2 separate regions of the Homo sapiens genome follow, and region 2 is linked to region 1. Evidence: promoter capture Hi-C in human tissues and cell types (Jung and others, 2019). All regions are on one chromosome and are shown on one strand. Each heading gives the region's core, a stretch centred on a gene start or on the middle of the fragment in contact. The rest is flanking DNA. Distances are from core to core; before and after follow the strand shown.

Region 1 (4,453 bases), core at 1,310-3,809:
GGAGGATCCCTTGAAGCAAGGAGTTCGAGACGAGCCTAGGCAACATAGTGAGTGAGACATCTCTCCAAAAAGTTTTTTTAATTAGCGGGGTATGGTGGGCGAGAGGATTGCTTGAGCCCAGGAGTTTGAGTTTGAGCCATAATTGGGCCACTGCACTCCAGCCTGGGCAACAGAAGGAGGCACTGTCAAAAAAAAAAAAAAAAGAAAGAAAAAGAAAAAAGAAAAGAAAGAAAGGAAAGAAAGGAAGGAAGGAAGGAAGGAAGGAAGGAAGGAAGGAAGGAAGGAAGGCAGGCAAGCTGCATAGAGCAGCAGAATCCAGCTAGGAAGGGGTGGGAGTCAATCCTGCTGAAAAGGCAGGGAATTTGAACTTCAACAATGAGTCATCCAGAATGGCTGCATCATGGGGTATAGGGTGTGGGGAGTGGAGAGGCTCAGGAAGGGACACAGTTACAGTCAGTGCAGCACAGCTCGCAAAGGCTCTCACAAATCATCGGGCTTTGCACTTTATCTTGTAGGTAACAGAGTCATGGGACATTCTTAAGCAGGGGCAGTACAAGATTTTACTGCAACTCCAGCCAAAGACACCTGTTACTGGTGTTCCCAAAATCCATATGTTGAAGTCCGTACCCGTGGCACTTCAGAATGTGGCTGTATTTGGAAATAAGGTCCTTCCAGATGCAATTAGTTAAGATGAGGTCATACTAGAGTAGGGTGGGCCTCTAATCCACTGTGACTGGCGTCCTTATAAAAAAGGGAATTGGAACACAGAAACACACACAGGGAGAACCCATGTGAACATGAAGGTAGAGATTGGCTCCTACAAGCCAAGGAACACCAAAAATTGCCAGCACCCCCACCCCCAGAAGATAGGGGAGAGGCATGCAACAGATTCTCCCTCATAGCCTTCAGAAGGAACCAACGCTCTTCACCTGACCTTGCTTGGACTTCTAGCATCCAGAACTGTGAGACAATAGGTTTCTGTTGTTTGAGCCACTCACTTTGTGGTACTTTGTTATGGCAGTCCTAGGAAACTAATATAACATCCAAAAGTAGAGACACAGGCTAGGCTCCGTGGCTCATGCCTGTAATCCCAGCACTTTGGGAGGCTGAGGCGGGCGGATCACTTGAGGTCAGGAGTTCAAGACCAGCCTGGCAAACATGGCGAAACCCCATCTCTACTAAAAATACAAAAATTAGCCGGGCATTGTAATGCACGCCTGTGATCCCAGCTACTAAGGAGGCTGAGGCGGGAGAATTGCTTGAACCCAGGAGGCAGAGGTTGCAGTGAGCTGAGGTCATGCCACTGCACTCCAGCCTGGGCAACAGAGCAAGACTCCGTCTCAAAAACAACAAGAACAAGAACAACAAGAACAACAACAACAACAAAAGTAGAGACACAGAAAAATGTGGCACTTCTTAGCAATCTAACATCCCAGATAATACCTAGCTCAGAGGGTGGGGAGAATTTAGCCTGCCCTCCTTGCCCATAGGGTTCCCACTTTCACTGCTTCAGCTGTTTTGTCGTGGGAAGCAGCCACCCTCAGCCACAGAACTCAGCTGCCTCAATTTTCTGCATAGGTAGTGAGAAAGTCCTGTGTCTAGTCTCACTTTGGTCCCTCTTGCTGCTGTACTGGTTCCATCTTGGAGAAGTTAGAGGTCAAAGTTCACATGTGCATCCTTGGAGATTTGCAAGCCATGACTCTGCCCACCTCGAAACTATCTTTTTCAGAGGTAGTTTCTCCCAAACTTGCCTCCAGCCTCTCTTCCACTTGAAGGGCAGCAGAGAGGAGGATTAAGACAGTAGGAAGAGGGAAAACAGGCAGGCAACTGCCCTTCAAGACACTTATTTTGTACCAAAGACATGCATTATGGTATTACATTCTCACGGTAACTGCATCAGGTAAGAATTATCAGCTCCATTTTACAGATGAGGAAAGTGGGCTTGGAGAGGATATCACACGATTGGTGTCTAGAGCTGGGACTCTACCTGGTGGACTCCAAAGCTCTTTTCATTCCACCATGCTGTGTCTCAGTAGGCAGAGTTCGCCAGGGTGTCTTGGGAAAACTGAGGCAGGAGGTAAGAATGGTGCTTTCTAGAGTTGGGGTTTCAAGCCTTCCCATTGTCCATTCTCTACCAGCAAACTAGCCTCTTAACCCTTGCTGTCTCACGCTGGAGCTACTGGCCTGTGGGTGCTGCGAAATATGTCAACTCCAGTAGGCGGCACTGTGAACCAGACACCAGCCCAGCGTGGACGCCGCGCGGGAAAACCCGCGAGGTGGAGCCACAAGGAGCAGCCAGGGAACCACGTGTGGAGGCGTGGCCAGCCTGGAAGAGGGCGGGTCTGTTATTCAAGCCCCGCCCATCATTTCAGGCCTCCCCTCCCGGTGGGCGTGCCCCGAATTCTCTCCCCGAGAGACACGCGTGGGCCGCTCCCCTCTGGGAGGAGGGCTGCCCAGAGGGGTGCGGGTGTCGCTAGCGGCCCCTCCCCGTGTGGGGCCACGTGGCGGGTGCGGGCCGAGCCCGAGGGGAAGAACCTGGCCCGTGGGGAGGTGGGGGGGACCGAAACGGCGCTGAGCCGAGCCGAGAGCTACGGGGTTCGGAGCAGAGGCAGCGGCAGCGGCAGCGGCAGTAAGAGGGAGGGGAGGAGGCAGGAGGGCGCATGGGGCGCCCCGGCCCCTCCGACAGCGCGCCCCCTCCGGCCCGGCCGCGCTGAAAGCTCCCCAGCGCCGCGCCTTGAACCCACGCCCCGGGGCCATGCCGGTCATGAAGGGGTTGCTGGCCCCGCAAAACACCTTCCTGGACACCATCGCCACCCGTTTTGACGGAACGCGTGAGTGGGACGGAGGTCGGGGCTTGAGGTTCGAGCTGGGGGGCAAGTATCCTCGGGGCCGTCTCGGATCTCCTGGACATGGTGAGACCCGAGGCGAGGGGAGAGAATGGAGGTGCGGGTCTAGGAACTCCCAAAGCCGCGGTGCAGGAACAGGGCGGGGAGTGCCCTGCGAGGGGAGGAGGGGAAAGGGCCGAGAGCACGGGGGCCAAGGTTAGGGGGTGTGACTCGAGGCAGAAGAGGCTCTTTGTGCGGCAGAGCGGAGGAGGGTCCTTCGGAGCCGCCCACTCTCGGGCAGAGCTGTGCTGGGGGCGTGTATGGGGGTATCCGAGACACAGAAGTGGGGCAAAGTGGCCGGGCATTCTGGGGTCTACTCACAGACTCCAGCTCCCACTACCTCCAGAAAAAAAGGAGAAAAGATCAGACTTCAGCAGGACCTAGTTTGGATTGAGGTCGCGCGCCCCCAAATCGTGGGGCGTCAGTGTCTAAGGTGGGTGAGGCAGGAGGAGGGGAGCGGTCTGTGCGACGGTGGGAACTCCCAGCTCGCCCAACGTAGCTTGGGTTTCAGGTTCAGCACCTTGGACAGCCACATCACTCCTCCCCCGCCTCTTCTCCCGCCATTCCCTCTTCCCACTCTGGAACCCAGAGATTCCCCGCCCTCACCTCCCCCAACCCCGCCATTCCCTCGGGAACCCTGGCCGGGATCTGGATGGTGGGGGAGCGGTACCCGAGGGCGGAAACTGAGCCGCCGGGCCCTACCCTCTTCCCCACCACCTTGTTTCCATAGCGCCCATCACCGGGGCAACAGGCCCTGGGATGGAAGAAGGAGGCTGTGCCCAGAGCCCAGTGCCTCCCAGGCACCTTCAGTGTCCCCATCAGCCTCCCTGCCCCCAGACAGTCATCCCTCCTAGAGCACCAGGACTGGTTGTGTCACAGGCCCCATCTCTTAGCTGAGTCTCTGTCCCTGGATGGCCCACAGGAGTCCCCCTGGCCTCCCACCCATTGGAGCTGGAGGGAGACAGCTCGGGTTCTGCTGCTGGGGGTTGCTGGAGCTATACGCTCAATGCCCTCTCCCATTAGACTTTGAGCAGTGGGGCAGATCCCCTGAAAGCAGCTACAAGAATGCTAAAAAGTGGACCTTCTCTGGAAGGCAGGGAAGGAAGACAGCACTCATCACTGTCTGCCCCCACACTAAGGAGATCTGTGAGTTTGGATAATCTCTGCCTTTTGGTTTCCTATCAATAAATGGGTGTGGTGTCATCAGAATCTCTGCCCTGCTTACTCTGTAATAGGAAGAAAGCCAAGTGAATGTGGGGAAAAAATTTCACCTTCTCAGAGTAGCACTTACCATGTGCTAGGACTTGTTCTCCCCAAGTTAACTCATGTAACTCTCACAACGACCATGTGAGGAAGGCCTATTATGCCCTACTTTGCAAATAAGGAAAGCTTAGGCACAGAAGAGGTCATCAACTTGCCCAAGGTCACACAGTTAGTAAGTGGCAGTGGAGGGTTGCAGGAGCCCAGGCTCTTACTCACCATGCTATACTGCCTTCTACAGTGACAGCTCACCAGTTGGAAGGCAGGGGGATGGATGGCATGACCTCCTGGGGTCCTTCTCCAACTCC
Region 2 (4,453 bases), core at 1,050-3,549, 74 kb before region 1:
ATCTGCAAATCACCTTTGAAAGACAAAGGATTTGATTTGATTGTGGCAATCATGAAAGTTATCCTGTAAATAAAACTGTATGTCCTGGACCAAAGCTGGAATAATGCCACACTGAAATGATCTTAACTGTGGAATCCTTGATTGGACCCGATTTGTTTTGCACATACAATAGCTCCATAAAGATGATAGGCTTTCAGCAGGGATGAACAGATGTTCTGGTTTTATCAGAAATTGCTTTTGCATCACCAAGACTTCACAAAAGCCAGTAATCCCCCTGTTTGATGTTGTGGAGGTGCTTTTAAAACTTCTTCCCAGATACTGGTTTGAACACACAGACTTTGTCATTGACCTGTAAGATTCAATTGTCAGGTGGTATCTGTTTTCTCCCAACAGAAATAAAGAGAAGAAGAATAAAAACAAAAACTAGAAAGTGTAGCAGGGGCACAATTATTTATTTAAACTTTAAAGTATTTAATATTACATACCAGAATCTAAGTTACATAAAGCATGTCTGTTTTGTTCACTGCCACATTCTTAGTACCTAGAACAGAGCCCAACATGTAATAGTTACTCAATAAGTATCTGTTAAATAAGTATAGTAGTCCTGCCTTATCCCAAGGGATGCCTGAAACCTCAGGTAATACTGAACCCTACATATATATATTGTTTTTTCCTATGCATATATAATTATGATAAAGTTCAATTTATAAATTAGGCACAGTAAGAGATTAAGAACAATGATAATAAAATAGAACAAGTATGTAGTCTTTTTTTTTTTTTTTTTTTTTTTTTTTGAGACAGAGTCTCGCTCTGTCACCCAGGCTGGAGTGCAGTGGCGCAATCTCCGTTCACTGCACGCTCTGCTTCCTGGGTTCATGCCATTCTCCTGCCTCAGCCTCCCCAGTAGCTGGGACTACAGGCATCTGCCACCACACCCGGCTAATTTTTTGTATTTTGTTTAGTAGAGACGGGGTTTCACCATGTTAGCCAGGATGGTCTCGATCTCCTAACCTCGTGACCTGCTCGCCTCAGCCTCCCAAAATGCTGGGATTACAGGCGTGAGCCACTGTGCCTGGCCGAATGTAGTCTATCTTAAAATACTGTATCTTACTATGCTGTACTGTGGGTAACAGAAACCATAGAAAACAAAATCTCAGATAAGGAAAGACTATTGTATTCCCCTTTAATCTCAATACAGCAGGTGTATCCAGAGAACTTCAACCCTCAGAAGGACTGAAAGTGTGCCTTTTACTGTGGAAGAAAGAAAAGAGAGGGGGCTGGGTGCAGTGGCTCATGCCTATAATCCCAGTACTATGGGAGGCTGAGCCAGGAGGGTCACTTGAGCCCATGAGTTAGAGACCAGCCTGGGCCACAGAGTGAGACGCTGTCTCAAAAAAAGTTGGGGGGATGGGGGAGAAGAGAGAGGAGACAGCAAATATCTCTTTGTTTCCTTTGGATTTCAGCATTAAAGATAGAAAAAATGTGAGTTTATTAGGCAAAAACTGGTTTTTTAACCCCATTTTAAAGATTGTGGAGTTACGTATATATATCATAAAATTTACCATTTTTAACCTTTTATTTTGAGATGGAGTTTCTCTGTGTCACCCAGGCTGGAGGTTAGCTCATTGCAACCTTCACCTCCTGGATTCAAGCAATTCTCCTGCCTCAGCCTCCTGAGTAGCTGGGATTACAGGTGCACGCCACCATGCCTGGCTAATTTTGGTATTTTTAGTAGAGGTGGGGTTTCACCATGTTAACCAGGGTGGTCTGGAACTCCTGACCTTAGGTGAACCGCCCTCGGCCTCCCAAAGTGCTGGGATTACAGGCGCGAGCCGCTGTGCCCGGCCATTTTCACTGTTTTAAAGTACAGTTCCGTGGCATTAAGCACATTCACATTGTTGTGTGACCGTCAGCACCTGGTCCATCTCCAGAATTTTTTCATCCTAAACTAAAATCCTGTATTCATTAAACAGTAATGAGAATAAAACTCTCCATTTGCCCCTCCCCGCAGGCTCTGACAACCGCCATTCATTCTTTCTGTCTCTATGAGTTTGACTACTCCAGGCATCTTATATCAGTGGAATCATACACTATCTGCCCCTTTGTGTTTATTCCTTTTTTTGCAACATAATTCTTTTGGTTGGAGACTTCACAGTTTTTCTTTCCTTTGATTGTTTAGTTTTTGCTTTGTACCTAGACCTGGCCAGTGATGCATGTGCAATGAGTATGCAAAGACAAGTTAATTCAGCAGCTTGTTGCATACCACTAGGGAGTTATTAAAGCTTTCAAAATGTGATTCCTCATCTGTATGCCTGTGGCTTATCTACTCCAAGTCTTGCTGATAAACCTGCACTGAGAGTAATAGCAAAGATTAGTCTTTCTCCATGTTTCATAAAACAAATTGTTCTCATTCTTACAGCCTGATTATGAACTGGAAAATTACAGGTACATTGTTGTAATTGTTTATACAGACAATGAGACATACTCTCCACAGGGGACCTCAGCTGCAGGGGAGGTTCTGATTGCGTGTCATTAAGAAACGACAGTTAAGAAACTTTTTTTTTTTTAGACGGAGTCTCGCTCCATTGCCAGGCTGGAGTGCAGTGGCACGATCTCGGCTCCCTGCAACCTCTGCCTCCTGGGTTCAAGTGGTTCTCCTGCCTCAGCCTCCCAAGTAGCTGGGACTACAGGCGCATGCCACCACACCCAGCTAATTTTTGTATTTTTTGTAGAGACAGGGTTTCACCATGTTGGCCAGGATGGTCTCAATCTCCTGACCTCGTGATCCGCCTGCCTAGGCCTCCCAAAGTGTTGGGATTACAGGCATGAGCCACCGCACCGACCTTCTTTTTTTTTCCATTTTTAAAAATTTTCTATTCTCATTACATCTTCCTTTCTCCCTACTTTTCCTTCCCTTCCCTTCCAGTTTGTCCTTCCCTCTCTCTCTTTCTTCCTTTTTTCTTTCTTTTTCATTCTCATTTTTCTGAGTAGTTGCTGAAGACACAGCCTGACCCTAGGGGTCCAAATATAGATGAAACAATCATAGCTCTCTAGCAGTTCACCTGGAGGGAGAGAGAAAAAGAGAGTAAGAGAACCAAAATGAAGGGGAAATATTCTTAATTTTTTTTTTTTTAAGGACAGAAACTAACTTGTTGAGGAAAAAGAGAAATATACTGGGAGTTCTGACTGATAGGAACAAAGAGAGGACAGCTTCGAAGGATGATTTGAAAAGTAATCTATGGAATTTAGCTTTAAAGCAGGATCTTGGGCTGTAGACTACTTTATTATTATTATTTTTTAAGAGACAGAGTGCAGTGGTGCAGTCATGGCTCACTGTAGCCTCAAACTCCTGGGCTCAAGCCATCCTCCCACCTCAGCCTTCTGAGTAGCTAGGATTACAGGTACATACCAGCACGCCTGGCTAATTTTTTAATTTTTATTTTGTAGAGATGAGGTCTTGCTGTGTTGCCCAGGCTGGTCTTGAACTCCTGGCCTCAAGTGATCCTCCTGCCTCAGCATCCCAAAGTGCTGGGATGTTGTGGACTCCTTTAGAGCCTCTTGAAATAGGGCTAGTAAAGTGATTTTCTACCACTGTATCTGTGCTCATTTACATTGGGCAGATCACTTCTGCTTGACTTCATAGTTTCAACCTATAACATGAGGGGTCAACAGGTAGATTCGGAACCATCAGAGTTTAGGCCGAAGCCCATAGAATATGAAAGTTATTTTTAAAATTTATTTTTACAATGTCTACAAATGCAGTTGTTAAAGTGCCAGAGACAGAAGTATTGACAATGAGAAATTATCCAAAACCAGGCCAGGCGCGGTGACTCACGCCTGTAATCCCAGCACTTTGGGAGGCAAAGGTGGCAAGATGACTTGAGGCCAGGAGTCACAGGCTGCAATGAGTTGTGTTCATGCCACTGCTCTCCAGTCTGGGCCACAGAACAAGACCCTGTCTCTAAAAATAATCATCATCATCCAAAACCAAGACTGGCTCCTATTGGAAAGGTGGAAATGGTTGTGATGGAATTCAGCAACACCAATACCTTGGTATTTCTGACTTTCAGGATGTTAGGAGACTCTTTCAGTCCTTCCTGTTTAAATATGAATGGATATGTATTGCCATTATTGCCCTGCCCCTACATCTCCCAAATTTAGATTGCTAGTATTTATGTAAGTTTACTAGTCACAAATAGATTCTTGCATTTCCCATCTCTTGTCATAGGGCCCTCTTTGAGTTCAATATGCTTTTATTGGCACTTACTTTGGTTTTCTTTACAGCAGCAGCTGCTAATTAGTGACAGCTTTTGAGCAAGCAGCTTGTCATTTTTGGCAGAGATAGGGGACATCCATAGCAAGTCAAGACTATATTTTCATTTGCTAAATTTACTTTGCTACATGGAAATACATCTTGGATAAAAAATAGTCTGTAGTCAAAGGTGGCTGTGTT

What was found. The method cuts DNA at HindIII sites, captures the fragments that hold promoters and counts their contacts. A contact is called where the count stands out against the background at its distance.
Region 2: a contact is called between a fragment that was not itself captured here and the fragment with the promoter of KCNH4 in region 1, in 3 of the 25 tissues and cell types used here (IMR-90 fibroblasts, bladder and hippocampus).

Annotation. Positions count from the first base shown.
Region 1 is chr17:42,179,248-42,183,700 of GRCh38, reverse strand. It overlaps KCNH4 (potassium voltage-gated channel subfamily H member 4), which reads left to right and starts at 2,559. Exons shown (of 17, transcript NM_012285.3): 1 at 2,559-2,831. The coding sequence starts at 2,756. RefSeq lists enhancers at 1-35, 3,599-4,166 and silencers at 2,128-2,403, 2,410-2,649. The HindIII fragment of the contact is 13,187 bases long and covers 1-4,453 here.
Region 2 is chr17:42,253,203-42,257,655 of GRCh38, reverse strand. All of the region lies in intron 1 of STAT5B (signal transducer and activator of transcription 5B), which reads left to right. Among named protein-coding and RNA genes, the nearest start is that of STAT5B, 21 kb to the left of the region's middle. The HindIII fragment of the contact is 4,124 bases long and covers 238-4,361 here.